Linked DNA regions of Homo sapiens: all the other regions are linked to region 1. The links are contacts of gene promoters, found by promoter capture Hi-C in blood cells and fetal thymus (Javierre and others, 2016). All regions are on one chromosome and are shown on one strand. Each heading gives the region's core, a stretch centred on a gene start or on the middle of the fragment in contact. The rest is flanking DNA. Distances are from core to core; before and after follow the strand shown.

Evidence for each region. The method cuts DNA at HindIII sites, captures the fragments that hold promoters and counts their contacts. A CHiCAGO score of 5 or more calls a contact.
Region 2: a contact is called between a fragment that was not itself captured here and the fragment with the promoter of VEZF1 in region 1, in 1 of 17 cell types (neutrophils). The highest score is 5.3, in neutrophils.
Region 3: a fragment that was not itself captured here is called in contact with the fragment with the promoter of VEZF1 in region 1 in 4 of 17 cell types (neutrophils, megakaryocytes, monocytes and 1 more); the score reaches 9.1 in neutrophils.

What each region holds. Positions count from the first base shown.
Region 1 is chr17:57,986,867-57,989,654 of GRCh38, forward strand. VEZF1 (vascular endothelial zinc finger 1) reads right to left here and starts at 1,388. Exons shown (of 6, transcript NM_007146.3): 1 at 1,213-1,388. The coding sequence starts at 1,245. It overlaps LOC101929185 (a long non-coding RNA gene), which reads left to right and starts at 1,244. Exons shown (of 1, transcript XR_001752716.3): 1 at 1,244-2,788. It also overlaps a transcript of SRSF1 not described here. RefSeq lists silencers at 651-720, 801-1,280, 1,351-1,630 and enhancers at 1,781-1,830, 1,851-1,990. The HindIII fragment of the contact is 4,468 bases long and covers 1-2,788 here.
Region 2 is chr17:57,825,078-57,827,865 of GRCh38, forward strand. No RefSeq gene overlaps it. Among named protein-coding and RNA genes, the nearest start is that of MRPS23, 24 kb to the right of the region's middle. The HindIII fragment of the contact is 8,525 bases long and covers 1-2,788 here.
Region 3 is chr17:57,845,117-57,847,904 of GRCh38, forward strand. The region is part of intron 2 of MRPS23 (mitochondrial ribosomal protein S23); the gene reads right to left. Among named protein-coding and RNA genes, the nearest start is that of MRPS23, 3.5 kb to the right of the region's middle. RefSeq lists an enhancer at 1,116-1,723. The HindIII fragment of the contact is 4,492 bases long and covers 1-2,788 here.

The DNA of each region.
Region 1 (2,788 bases), core at 138-2,637:
GAAAATAACTCAGAGAGGCGGGAAGAACGCACTTAAAAGTGACGAGCTTCCTAACCTCCTCCAGTTCCGAAGTTTCCCCGTGAGCTCATCGCTACTGCCCACTGAATGCTTCGTTTTGCAAACAGAAACGAAGTAGGAAAAAAATAAGTTCCAGCCTAGATCTGCCAAACAGGGGTCCCCCATCTAAAGTGGGCGGGCAAGAGAATTGCCAAAACACATCGGCTACAGTCACTTTCAAGTTTCTTGCAAAAAAGCGAAGACCAACATCCCAGAGAGTGACTCATCTGGGGGCTTTGTAAGCGGACTTTGTTTGCTCTCTCCACTTGGTTGGAGGAAACGTTCGAGGTGGGCGAGAAAGAAAAGCGCTTCGGGAGAAGGTCGGGCCTCCAGGAGTCCCGGCCCCCACCGCTCCCCGCCTGCCCCGGGCCGGCCCGGCTGGGGGATTCCCCAGGCTGAATGGGACGGCGGGAGAGCTGGACAGAGGGAGAAGGTGTCAGCTGCCAAGGCTCGGCTGAGACTTGGGAAAAAAAAATGTAAATCCAGTGAAAAAGTTTGGGGAGGGGATACACACTCACAACATCCGCCCCCCCAACTGGGTAAACACGAGAGGGGTGGTGGCGGTGAGGGGGAGTGGCGGGGAACCTGGGGATACCCGCTATTCGCGGGGACACGGGAGGGGGTCAGAAAGTCAACACACGCACGCACACACACAAAAAGACGAGGAAGGTGAAAAGAGAACAAGCGAAAGATGGATGAAGTGGCGGGGAGGAGACTCAGGGCAGGACCTGGGGACCTCCTCACCCCACCGTGGGGGACCGGGCCGGCACGCAATGGCCCAGCAGCCCGCGCTATCCAGCGGCCCGGCGCCCTCCTTTCTCTGGGCCGCGGGGTGGTGACAGCGACCGGCCTCCTCCCTTCCCCTTCAGAGCGAGAGGGAAGGGTGTGTGTGAGTGTGTGTGTGTGCGTGTGTGTGCTGGGGGGCCCCCGGGTTCACCCCGCGGCCTGCTATCTCCCCCGCACCCCGTGAGGCCGCCTCCTTTCACCTCAGCAGCCCCGCTTCGCCGGGGCGGGCGGGCGGAAAAACAAAGGGGGATTAAGGCCGGGCCGGAGAGCGGAGCCGGGAGGGAGGGGAGGAGGAGCGCCCGCCCGCCCGCCAGCCCGGGGCCCGGCCCCCCTGTCCCCCCCGTGCCCCCCCGGGGGGGCCCCCAGTACCTGGAACAGGAACGCGGTCCAGTTGGCCTCCATGGCTGCGGCGGCCGACCCCCCTCCTCCCCACTCCCCCCGCTCGGGGAGCCTCCTCAGCCGGAGGAGGCGACAACAAAGCGGCGGCGGCGGCGGCGGCAACGGCAGCGGCGGCTCCTCAACATGGCAGCGCCGAGCGCGGCCACTTCCGGTAACCTCCGGGACGCACCACCGCGGCGGCGAGCGCGGGCGGGGGGGGAGCCCCGGCCCGGCCGCCGCCGCCCCCAGTCGCCCGGACCCCCTCTGGGCGTCCCCGCTGCCGGCTCGCCGCCTCGGAGCTCAGCCAGTGCCCGCTGGCGGTGGGGTCAGGGCCCCCGCGGGGGGGCTGGGGTGGGGCCCGGGGCGGGGATGGGGCGCGGCGTCCCCCCCCGCGGGGGTGTGTGGTGCTGCGGTCCGTGGCTCAGGCAGCTGGAGCAGGGGGAGCTCAGGAGAGAAGATGGAGGACGCCAGGGTCTGGCGCTGGCCCGCTGGGCACAGCTGGGCCGTCTCCCGTGACTCAGACACGGTGTCCAGCACCGTCGCGTCCCTGTTAGACCCTCAGCGGAGGGCACAGGCCACGGCGGACACTCGGCTCTTCAGTCGCTCATGCACAGCATGGTCCCCACCTCCAAACTGGGGGAAGCCCTTTCGACTTCGAGCCTCTCTTCCTTTTGGCATTTCCTCCCCGGCCGGCTAAGCCCTCTGCGCTCTCGCTATGATATGCATCTCATGGCGAGATGGCCTTCCAACTCAAGCAGGGAATCCCACTGGGGTGCAGCCTCAGATCCTCTCAGTGTGGAGGGAAACACTTCCCACGCGTAGAGATGTCATTACTGGGTTATTCTTGGGTGAAGGGCTGAGCCTCCCCATCCTCCCCTTCACTCCAAGATAGGATGTGAAATTCTATCCCAACACCCCTCCTCTCCCGCCAAAAATAAAAACAAGTGAGATAGTATAGACAAATTATTTTAGTCCTTTAGTACAGTCTGTTTCCTCCTTCACCCCCAGAACAAAAATCGAACTTCTGGTTGGACAGCGTCAGATGTCACTGAGGTGACCCCAGCCTGTTTGCAGTTCCAAGTCTTCCGTGTAGGCGTCACTGCTACTGGAACTTTGTAGATGAGGAGCCTGTATGATGATGTCCTGAACATTTCTATCCTTTCCTCACACAGAGGGAAGCTACTGGGAATATCAGAGACAAGCTATTATTAAACAAGTGTCTCTAGTCCAAGACATCTCCTGTGGCAGGGAAATGAGGGGGCAGGCTGTATCAGTGATATTTTTATAAACTCTGGTTTTAGAAAAAATTCTTCAGATGGACGCATTATTTTAAGACTTTAACATTTTCCAAAACCAACTGAATCTTATCCCCTCCATTTATCCCCCTCCAGACACTTCTAATCAAGGTCACCATCTCCAACTTCCCCCATAGACAATAAAAATATGGCTGGAGAATTCTACTGTAATAGAAAACCAAGGAGATATAGTAATTTGACAGTGTGTTTCCTTTCCATCCACTAGACAAGAATACCCCCTCCCATTCTTTCCTCCCCTCAGTCACCAGAAT
Region 2 (2,788 bases), core at 104-2,603, 160 kb before region 1:
ACAACTGAAACCTCCAAGAGGAAAATAAATATATAACAATAATAGCCAACTCTCTTTTTAAAAAATCACTTTTTGTTTTTGAGACAGGGTCTCAGCTCTGTCACCCAGTCTTTACTGCAGTGACACAATCATAGCTCACTGCAGTTCAAGGGATCTTCCCAAGTAGCTGAGACTACAGGTGTCCATCACCACACCAGGCTAATCATTTTGTTGTTGTTGTTGTTGTTTTTATTTATTTATTTTTATTTTTATTTATTTATTTATTTTGAGACGGAGTTTTGCTCTTGTTGCCCAGGCTGGAGTGCAATGGCGTGATCTCAGCTCACCACAACCTCTGCCTCCTGGGTTCAAGCGATTCTTCTGCCTCAGCCTCCCGCGTAGCTGGGATTACAGGCATCCACCACCACGCCCGGCTAATTTTTGTATTTTTAGTAGAGACGGGGTTTTACCATGTTGGCCAGGCTGGTCTCAAACTCCTGACCTCAGGTGATCCACCCGCCTTGGCCTCCCAAAGTGCTGGGATTACAGGCGTGAGACACCATGCCCAGCCAAAAATCCTTCTAATGTTTATTTTTTTAATTATGAAAATAACTCTTTTTAATTTATTTGCATAGTGTTTTTATTCTACTACATACATAAAAATAGAAGCTACAGGTGAATTAAGTTTATTAATGTGGTCTTAAACATCTTCCTGTTCAGTCTGACATGTCTGAATCCCTTTCAGACTCAGTGTCTTTGATGTCTGTGCTTTTCTACATACCTTCCTGTTCTGTTCCATGAAGGACATTAGTGATATGGCATTTCTTAAAAGAATGTTCCATTAGTGCTTATGAGACCAAGTCTTACACTATATACCAGGAATATTTTCAATGCTTTTCACCTATTAAGTCATTTATTTTCGCCTCTATTAGATAGGTGGTATCATTAGCCCCATTTTACAGATGAAGAAACAGAGACGAGAAGAGGAGGTTAAGTCACTTGCCCAAGGTCACAGAACTAGTAAGTGGCAGGGTTGGGGTTTGAACCAAGGCAGCCTGGCCCCAGAGCCATACTCTTAAAGCCTACATATTCATACATCTAGTCTTAGAATAGAATATTGTACAGCAGTGAAAATGAATTAACTAGAGTTACATGTGGCAAAACAGGTGAGTTTCAAAAGAAAACTCTTGAGTAAAAAGATCAAATTACAGAGGGATACATGCAGTATAAAGCCACTTTTATAATATTTTTAAATGTGTAAAACAATACTGTATGTTTATTATAGATACATACGTTTGTAGAAAAAATTATTATTTTTTAAGTAGGGAAGATAAACACCAAGTCCAGGAAAATATCCACCACGAGAGTAGGGACAAAGAAGAAAGGGATCAGGAATGGATACAAGAAGCTCATGTCTTAACCTGGGTGATGGGTAAGTAGATATTTGTTGTAGAGTCTCTGTAATTTTTGAATGCCTGAAATATTTCATAATAATCAAAAATAATGCCATCTCCTACTCCAGAGCTGCATGTAACTGTAAATTAAGCTCTGAATTTCCCCACAGCCAAAGCTAAGAGGGAAACTAAGACACCAAATTTGCCAAGACCGCAGAAGCAAACCACCCAAGTTGTTCAAAAGCAGCACAGTTTTTTATTCCTTAAGCTAAAACGTGAAAGATATTTATCCCACGGGTCTTCATAGAGGAAAAAATGGTCAGTAACATTCCCACAGAAAAAAACAAAAGTATGCCTCATACAACCATTTCCTAGCATCCCTCAATGCATTGTAACAGCTTAATGTCAAAGCAGGCTTCAGAAGCAGCAGCTCAGCTGGGCGAGGTGGCTCACACCTGTAATCCCAGCACTTTGGGAGGTCAGGAAGGAGGATCGCTTGACCCCAGGAGTTCAAGACCAGGCTGGGCAACAAAGAAAGACCCCATCTGTACAAAAAAATTGAAAAATGAGACAGGGTCTCATACACCTGTAGTCCCAGCTATTCAGGAGGCTGAGGCAGGAGGATCGCTTGAGCCTGGGAAGTAGAGGCTACCGTGAGCTTTGATCATGCCACTGCACTCCAGCCTGGGTGACATAGCGAGACCCTGTTTCCAAAAGAAAAAATTAAAAATAATTAAATTTTAAAAAAGAAGCAGCTGCTCTATAAAGGGAACTGTCTTTATTGCCAGCTTCTGGGACATTTCCAGAGAGAACAGACCTTCATGAGCAAGAGGGAAGCAGGCCGACTTGACCACAGTAGCCTGGGGACTGACACAGCCTTAACTCTGGGAAGGACCCTCCTTCAGATTCCTGCTCAGGGGCCTGGGACCCATAGCTGCAGACAAGCCATAAAGATATCCTACAGTCCTGGGATCTGAAAGCATTCACCCTCTGTTTAGTTCTTCTCATGATCACTCAGACTTCTTGGACCCTGAGTCCATCCAGCTGTCTGTTGAAACCATTGGCTCTTACCTTCATCTTACAAAGGCGGGAGCCAGCTAGGCACCGTGGCTCACACCTGTACTCCAGCACTTTGGGAGGCCGAGGCGGGCGGATCACCTGAGGATGGGAGTTAGAGACCAGCCTGACCAACATGGAGAAACCCTGTCTCTGCTAAATATACAAAATTAGCCGGGCCTGGTGGCACATGCCTGTAATCCCAGATGCTCAAGAGGCTGAGGCAGGAGAATCGCTTGAACCCAAGAGGCGGAGGTTTCGATGAGCAGGGATCCCGCCGTTGCACTCCAGCCTGGGCAACAAGAGTGAAACTCTGTCTCAAAAAAAAAAAAAAAAAAAGCAAGCTGATTATTTAGAGA
Region 3 (2,788 bases), core at 183-2,682, 140 kb before region 1:
CGAACTCCTGACCTCAAGTGATCCACCCGCCTCGGCCTCCTGAAGTGCCAGGATTACATGTGAGAGCAAAGCACAAATGATTTTAATGTATCAATGAACCACAAAGTGCATGCAATGGGTCTGAGAAGAAAGGTGCTGAAAAAGCATTTAATCTCCTCAAAGATCTCATGTTGTATGCCGAAAATATCCAAGTAGAACAAGAACATACTTGTTCTGCTACTTTAAATGAGTGTTGGTGTTGGGGGTCCCGGGGTGAAAGCCTGGGCCCCAATTCGGAACATAATGACCTTATAAATTCCATTTTCTAGCATCCTGAAACAACAGTAAGAATAAGGGATGTGTATCAAAGTCAATTAGGCACACTCATTGGTATAAATATTTAAGAGAAAAAGGAACTAGACAAATTCAAGGTACTAAAAGCTAATTAACATCAGTATTCAAGGGGAGGGGCTTTGTCAGTAAACTCCCAGTGAGAGATTTACCACTTACTTAGATCTTACATAAATGTATAGGGATGCTAAATGTGGCCATAGAAGTGGTTTCTAGCCCACTGTTCCTGAAATTGTTTCAGAAAACTAATAAAATTCTGATGGCCATTCTCCAAACAGTCCCAGTCCTGGCCCTCCACCATTCCTCTCCAAGGAATTTTCTTTCGTTTCTCTCTACCAGCCTCATAGTTCATCTGTCCATTAATCCATTAGCTTCTTCATTCAAGAGACGATTAATAAGCAACTTATATGCCACACAATGGGCTAGGCACTGAAGTTACAAGAATGAATTTGACAATGCCTGGCCCATGACAGTGCTTAATGAATGTTTGTTATTGAATAAAGACAGGGCATTTGGAATGTAGAGCTATTAAAGACAGGCTAAGGCCACAACAGGGGCAGTATGAACAAAATTCAGGGCACACAAAAGGGGAAACATGAAAACAGAAAAGTAGTCCCAAAGAAGTGTGACATCTTTGTTTTTTTTTTTTGTATGAAAAAAATAAGGTGGGGGGCAGCCCCCACCCAGCCAGCCGCCCCGTCTGGGAGGGAGGTAGGGGGCAGTCCCTGCTCCGCCAGCCGCCCCGTCCGGGAGGGAGGTGGGGGGCAGCCCCCGCCTGGCCAGCCGCCCCGTCCGGGAGGGAGGTGGGGGGTAGCCACCGCCCGACCAGCCGCCCCGTCCGGGAGGGAGGTGGGGGGCACCCCCGCCCGGCCACTGCCCCGTCCGGGAGGTGGGGGGCACCTCTGCCCGGCCGCCCCGTCTGGGAAGTGAGGAGCCCCTCTGCCCGGCCGCCACCCCATCTGGGAGGAGTACCCAACAGCTCATTGAGAACGGGCCATGATGACGATGGGGGTTTTGTCGAATAGAAAAGGGGGAAATGTGGGGAAAAGAAAGAGAGATCAGATTGTTACTGTGTCTGTGTGGAAAGAGGTAGACATGGGAGACTCCATTTTGTTCTGTACTAAGAAAAATTCTTCTGCCTTGGGATGCTGTTAATCTATAACCTTACCCCCAACCCCCTGCTCTCTGAAACATGTGCTGTGTCCACTCAGGGTTAAATGGATTAAGGGCGGTGCAAGATGTGCTTTGTTAAACAGATGCTTGAAGGCAGCATGCTCGTTAAGAGTCATCACCACTCCCTAATCTCAAGTACCCAGGAACACAAACACTGCGGAAGAACGCAGGGACCTCTGCCTAGGAAAACCAGACACCCTTGTTCACATGTTTATCTGCTGACCTTCCCTCCACTATTGTCCTATGACCCTGCCAAATCCCCCTCTCCGAGAAACACCCAAGAATGATCAATAAATACTATAAAAAATAAAAAATAATAAAAATAAATTAAAAATAAAAAATAAAAAAAAGAAAAAATAGAGAACTTTAAAGATATTTTTAAGAATGTTGCTAGGAGGCCGGGCACGGTGGCTCACACCTGTAATCCCAACACTTTGGGAGGCAAGGCGGGCGGATCACGAGGTCAGGAGTTTGAGACCAGCCTGACCAACATGGTGAAACCCCATCTCTACTAAAAATACAAATTAGCCAGGCATGGTGGCGTGAGCCTGTAATCCCAGCTACTCAAGAGGCTGAGGCAGGAGAACAGCTTGAACCCGGGAGGTGGAGGTTGCATGGGGCTGAAATTACACCACTGCACTCCAGCCTGGGTGGCAGAGCGAGACTCCATCTCAAAAAAAAAAAAAAAGAATGTTCCTAGGCAACCATTAGGAGCACATTTTCTGTGACTATTTAAGTTTTGGAAAAAAAGAGAATAAAGAGGCCGGGCGCGGTGGCTCACGCCTGTAATCCCAGCACTTTGGGAGGCCGAGGCAGGCGGATCACGAGGTCAGGAGATTGAGACCATCCTGGCTAACACGGTGAAACCCTGTCTCTACTAAAAATACAAAAAATTAGCCAGCTGTGGTGGTGGGCGCCTGTAGTCCCAGCTACTCAGGAGGCTGAGGCAGGAGAATGGCATGAACCCGGAAGGCAGAGTTTGCAGTGAGCCGAGATTGCGCCACTGCACTCCAGCCTGGGAGACAGAGTGAGACTCCATCTCGAAAAAAAAAAAAATACTTAGATCAGAAAAAAACAAAACTTTTTTTTTTTTTGGAGACAGGGTCTCCCTCTGTTGCCCAGGCTGGAGTGCAGTGGTGCACTCTCAGCTCACTGCAACCTCCACCTTCTAGTTTCAAGCGATTCTCCCACCTCAGCATCCAAAGTAGCTGGGACTACAGGTGCCCACCACCAAGCCCGGCTAATTTTTGGTATTTTAGTCAAGACAGGGTTTCACCATATTGCC